Linked DNA regions of Homo sapiens: region 1 is linked to region 2. The links are contacts of gene promoters, found by promoter capture Hi-C in blood cells and fetal thymus (Javierre and others, 2016). All regions are on one chromosome and are shown on one strand. Each heading gives the region's core, a stretch centred on a gene start or on the middle of the fragment in contact. The rest is flanking DNA. Distances are from core to core; before and after follow the strand shown.

Region 1 (3,009 bases), core at 21-2,520, 2.2 Mb before region 2:
AGAGGGAAATAAAAATATAGGAAAGGAAAAAGCAAATATCTTTATATTTCAACTCTTTCCTTCCCTTGGTCAGGTCTGCTGCCCATTTGTCTCTTTAGCCCAAGGGGATGACATGTTTTAGAGATCAGCTTACTGCCTGTAGCTGTAAGTGTCTTTGACCATGTCACAAGGGAGGGGAACATTATATCCTTATCCCAACCTATCTCTAGCGTGATGCCCCTTGAATGCCATGATAATCTCTGCAAAAATGCCACTCTGACAAAAATGAAGAGACTCTACTGCACTTGCTAATGTAGCTCAGCTTAGCTTTTTTGTGTCCTGGCTTGGACATTCTGAAATTTAATTTGTCTTTACCTTTGCTTAACAAAAGGGCCATTAATATATTTTTCACAAAATTAAATTTAGGCTACTTCTTAGCTAAAACAACAAATAATTGTCTACATCTCTAGCAGTCACTCCTTCAGAATCACTGGGGTTCAGTCCTTGAAGCCTCTTACTACATATTTAACCAGTATTTAAGGAGCTCCTTTTAGGGCCAGACCCTGGGCTAAGCACTAAGAATATCAGTCAGAAGCAGGTGTGGCCCAGATTACCTTCCAGCTTGGAGAAAGCAGCAGGTAGATAAATAGGTTCAAGAAACTGGCAAAGGGGTGACCATACAAGTATGTACAGGTTATAGTTGTAGCATGAGGAAATGGTTCTTTTCAACGGGTTGGAAGCAAAGGATTATAAAAGCTTCAAAACGGAGGAAGTTACAAGCAGTTGGCATGGTAAATAACAGGCAAAGGGTATTCCTGTTAGAAGAGCATATGCAGATATTGTCAGAAAACCCCAAGCAGCTAGGAATGTCTGAGTATAGAAAGGTGGGGAAGTGTCTACCAAGAGATAGAACGAAAACCCTAAGATGTTTCCAGATCAGAACGGGCCTTTTATGTTGTACCAAGAAGTTTTGACCTCAAAAGAACTGAGATGAAATATTTGAATCATAAGAGAGCTATGATTTTATCCCTGCTATTTGAAGAATTGATAAGGTCAAGGCACCAATTCCTAGACTGTCATGGTGGTCCAGGTGAAAAATTACAACTTCACGGAGCAGCCCCAGAGCATTTCAGAAGCCGAAATAAATGGATACGGAACATGTTAAGAATTGGGGATCAACAGAATTTGATGACTGGTGGTCCAAGTGAAGCAGAAGGAGATGTGAATATGGTAACATCCTGGGTTTGTGGGGAGCGGAGGGCTTTTTTGTAGTATTTTTCTGAGAGAGGAAACATAGAGAAGCTATGCATGGAGTGGGGTTTGTGGGGAGCTTTAGGTAAAATTAGAGCAGTTCAGGTTCTAAAAGTTTTATCATTTCCATGTCTTATGCACCTGAATCCCTCTGGGCATGCCACATTTTCTGCCTAAGGAACCCTCAAAACCTTCACAAGGGCTTGGGAGTTGGGACAGGGAATTGTTCCAGCCTTTACCTTTCCACTTCAGGCAGGACAACACCCATGCATTTATTGCTCCAATTCCAGATTCTCTTGCTTGTTGTCTTCACTGGCCCACCTCACCACAAGAGACTGACTGGAAATCCAGTTTCCATCCTTTACATCCACACACTCCCAATATATCACCAGGAAAATCCCAGTAAAGAGCGAATATGCAGTACTGAACTTTGGAATAAATCAAGTCACATAGTAGAGAAAGTGTAAGTGATATGGATCCATCTGACTGTGAACCTCTGGTTTTCACTTTGGGGTCAATTACCACCTCCGCAGATATGTCAAGACAGGCAGATAACAGCTAGAACCTATTGTTACTCAAGCTTGGAGATCAAAAGAAAATAAGCAGAGAAAAACATATCAAAGAAAACCCCAAAATCTCCCCTGCTGTGGAAATTTTCTTGTGGAGAGGTTAAAAATTTCCTCTGTCGGCCGGGCGCGGTGGCTCACGCCTGTAGTAATCCCAGCACTTTGGGAGGCCGAGGCGGGCGGATCACGAGGTCAGGAGATTGAGATCATCCTGGCTAACACGGTGAAACTCTACTAAAAAGACAAAAATTAGCTGGGCGTGGCGGCGGGCGCCTATAGTCCCAGCTACTCGGGAGGCTGAGGCAGGAGAATGGCGTGAACTCGGGAGGCGGAGCTTGCAGTGAGCCGAGATCGTGCCACTGCACTCCAGCCTGGGCCACAGAGCGAGATTCCATCTCAAAAAAAAAAAAAAAAAAAAATTCCTTTGTCTTGGGGTAAAATGTATTCAGAAATTTTATCTTACAGCTTGCAGAGTCATCGCTATTTCTCTTTTGTGTTTTTTTTTTTTTTTTAACTTTTAAGTTCAGGTGTACCTGTGCATTTCTTTAACAATACAGTTCATCTGAGTTGGTTTAGACATTCTAATTAAAAAAAAAAAAAAAAAGTTCCAGCAGGGGTCTCTCTTTGCACATGGTACAAAAAATTCTTAACAGTCACAGTGCAATATTTTTTATTTTGCTTATCCATCTTACAATGTAAATGAATGTGACTGCAAAATATGTCAAACTCTTTTCTTATATTATTAGAAAATCACTGAAAAGACATTAAGTTTCATATTATGATCTGGGAGGTGATTAAACATGTGTGTTCCCTATGTGATAATTCAACAAGTAGCAAATTTATAATTTAGGTACTTTTATGTTTACACATTATGCTTTTAAAAAGCTTGTTTTTAAGGGTACAATTCCTAATTTTACTCCTAATCATGTTTCTTTGATTTTTTATTTCACTTCTCATGTATCTAGAACATTTAGAATTTTGGTCATTTATGTATTTCATTGAATTTTATACATATTTTACAAATGATGCTTGGTGTGTATGTTTGTAGAGAAATAGAAAAAAATTCAAAAACATAGCTGCAATATTTTTTAAAAACCCATATTTTAAACTGAGGATTATCCAGTAAAAAGGTTTGTATTGGTTTTTGAATCATGAACTCTCAGAAAGAGGCAGTCATTGTTGGCACCCAAGCTTATGGGATGGATCCCAAAGG
Region 2 (2,844 bases), core at 72-2,571:
GTTGTTCCTCTCTAGGAAATTTTCTGTAGGTTTATGCACACATATATAGTATTTTGTTTTTAACATAAATGGTATCATACTCTAAATAGTGTGACTTTATCAGGTTCATCTGTCAGAGATATCTGATTGTTGCAGATACACAATAAGCCCTTGGACTACATGTGCTTAAACTACGCGGGCTCATGTGTATGCCGGTTTTTTCTGTCTCTGCCACCCCTGAGACACCCTTCCTCTTCCCCTTCCTTCTCAGCCTACTCAGCGCGAAGACAACAAGGATGAAAACCTTTATGATGATCCACTTCCACTTAATGAATAGTAAATATATTTTATCTTTCTTTATAATTTTTTAAATAACGTTTTCTCTAGCTTATTGTAACAATACAGTGTATAATGCATATAACATATAAAATAAATGTTCATCAGCTGTTTATGTTATCAGTGAGGCTTCCAGTCAACAGTAGGTTATTAGTTGATAAGTGTTGAGGGAGTCAAAAGGTACATGTGGATTTTCGACTGCATGGGGATCAGTGCCTCTAACGCCCATATTATTCAGGGGATAATTGTTTATATATATGGGTGTGTGTGTGTATTTTTTTTAAAAAGCCTTTATTATATTGCATAAAATGAATGAATCAAACAATAGATGTACTTTCTGTATCTTCTGCTCTGTGTGTTTCAAGCTGTATTTTTCTCCATCCTTCCAATTCTACTCGTTTTCCGTTTTTCAAATTTTTTAATCTACTTATGGGAATTTTTCTAATTTTCTCTCAGTAATTATGAATCATCTTTTTAAAGCTACATTTTATATTATTTCATGGAATGTAGGATAAGAGGAAAGACAAAAAAACTGTGCTCAATAGACTACCTGGATCCCATTTCTGAAAACATGGCATGAGACTGAAATAGTTATGCTAAGTAACCACCCATGGATACCAAAATGGAAAATAACTAGTACCTGGGAGATGTCTTTGAACTGTACCACAAGAGATATTAAGCTGGCTTGCACTGGTAGGAACGAACCGATCTGCTTTTATAACCAGAGTCTGTTCCGATGAGTTGGCATCTACATCATACCAGGTGTTACATATTTTGAAAACCATTCCTGATGTACAGTAACATAATTCACAAATCATTACTAAAATGTCTCCTTATCCTAGTTGATGGATAGTAGAAATTTTCTTTGGGTATTAAGTGTCGCCAAAGAAGAGAACAGGAGTAGAACCAACTTCCTTATCTTTTTAAGTCCATCTCACAGTGACTATAATGTCTTCTTCATCAACATATCCTTGGTGCCTGGAACAGTGCCTGACCCATAATAGAGACCCAGAAAATATTAATAAACAAATAAACCTATATTGAATAACATTTGGCTTCTATTTTCTCACTTGGAAAACGAGTTAGATCAAATCCCTAGTCATCCTAAAATTGAAGATTTTATAATTTCATTTATAATTCAATAGTTTCGTATATCATTAAATCTACTAAGCAAAATGAAAAATCAAAGGCTTCATTCTTTCAGACAATTCCATCATGTATTCACGTTGGAAGATAAACACCAATAATAGAACAACAAAACTTTCTAAAATTATTTTATTTTTTATAATTTTCTAACACATGGTGTTAGAAAATGAATTTTGGCACCGTGATTAAGAATTTCTTTTCAAGTTTAACCTTTACATTAAAAACAGTAGCTACAATAAGGATATTTCAACCTTACTTAGAGAAGTGATAAAACATCAAGTCAACAAGTATTTTTGTTGGAGAATTTTTTTATAAGCGGGATAGAGGGAAGTTAACATAGACACTCAGAAGAATAAAATGGAAATTATGCCAGGAAGATAAAAAAGCAAATAACCCTCCCCCCAAAAAAAGAATAAGGAGCGAGACAAAGGGCAAAACGGAAGAAGCAAGGCTCAACAACTTTGTTTTCCTGATATAAAATTCAAGTACTTAAAAAGTTTTTTAAAAAATAATTAAATGCACTACTCATCTCAATGAAATTTTTCGTTTTCCTATTTTCTAGAACTTTCTAAAAAAGGAAACAAAGCAAAAACAACAACAAAAAAAACCTGTTTGACTTAAGGACACTTGCTGATCTTGACACTTGATAATACTTTAAGAAATGGAAAGGTTTTCCTAAATCTAATACCTGCTTAATATAATCCACTTTGGAAGATTCATCTGAAAGAAACATAGGGTTTGATTTTTAATACTAATATAAAATAATCTGCCTTCCAATCAAAACAAAAATGTTTTCAACTGTATACGCTCCTCGGTTGTGTTTTGTACCATTTTCTTGAGGAAAACGTTGTGTAATTCTTTGTGTGTTCCCTTAGTAACTACTGTAAATAAGACCTGCATAGGTGTTCAGAAAAATACTTAGTTGCATACAAATCCAGTTAGAATCTGATTTTCAAGGTTTTACAACATGGTAATTTTCATTTATATCCATTTTGTCTACATTTCCTCTATATTTTGATAAATAAAAATCTTCCCATGCTTTTTTTAAATAAGAAAATATTATTAGTCTTGTTATTTGTACCTAAATATTTTATCAATTTGAAACACAAATTCATAAATTGTCATTATTCTCAGAGGCAACAAAGCATAGAAATAAATATTTAAGTTTTTTCTTTCTTTTCTTCTTCAATCTGTGTTTTAAGGCTCAGAGCAGACATTAAGAAATATCAAACAATTTTTTATAAAAAGTTTTTCAAATGTTTGGCCCAAAGTGAAGTTGTTCTGTTGATGTTATTTAAATATTCCTCTCATCTTCTCAGCCACAACTTCAAAGACGTGTTCATGCCAGTCATTCATCCAAAATAAATTTCAATTCAATGAAAA

The links. The method cuts DNA at HindIII sites, captures the fragments that hold promoters and counts their contacts. A CHiCAGO score of 5 or more calls a contact.
Region 1: a contact is called between a fragment that was not itself captured here and the fragment with the promoter of LNCSRLR in region 2, in 3 of 17 cell types (megakaryocytes, M2 macrophages and naive B cells). The highest score is 7.5, in megakaryocytes.

Annotation. Positions count from the first base shown.
Region 1 is chr3:143,893,582-143,896,590 of GRCh38, forward strand. No RefSeq gene overlaps it. Among named protein-coding and RNA genes, the nearest start is that of SLC9A9, 47 kb to the left of the region's middle. The HindIII fragment of the contact is 1,075 bases long and covers 734-1,808 here.
Region 2 is chr3:146,067,864-146,070,707 of GRCh38, forward strand. It overlaps LNCSRLR (lncRNA sorafenib resistance in renal cell carcinoma associated), which reads right to left and starts at 1,322. Exons shown (of 2, transcript NR_146297.1): 1 at 956-1,322. It overlaps PLOD2 (procollagen-lysine,2-oxoglutarate 5-dioxygenase 2), which reads right to left. Exons shown (of 20, transcript NM_182943.3): 20 at 1,577-2,844. The HindIII fragment of the contact is 7,145 bases long and covers 1-2,844 here.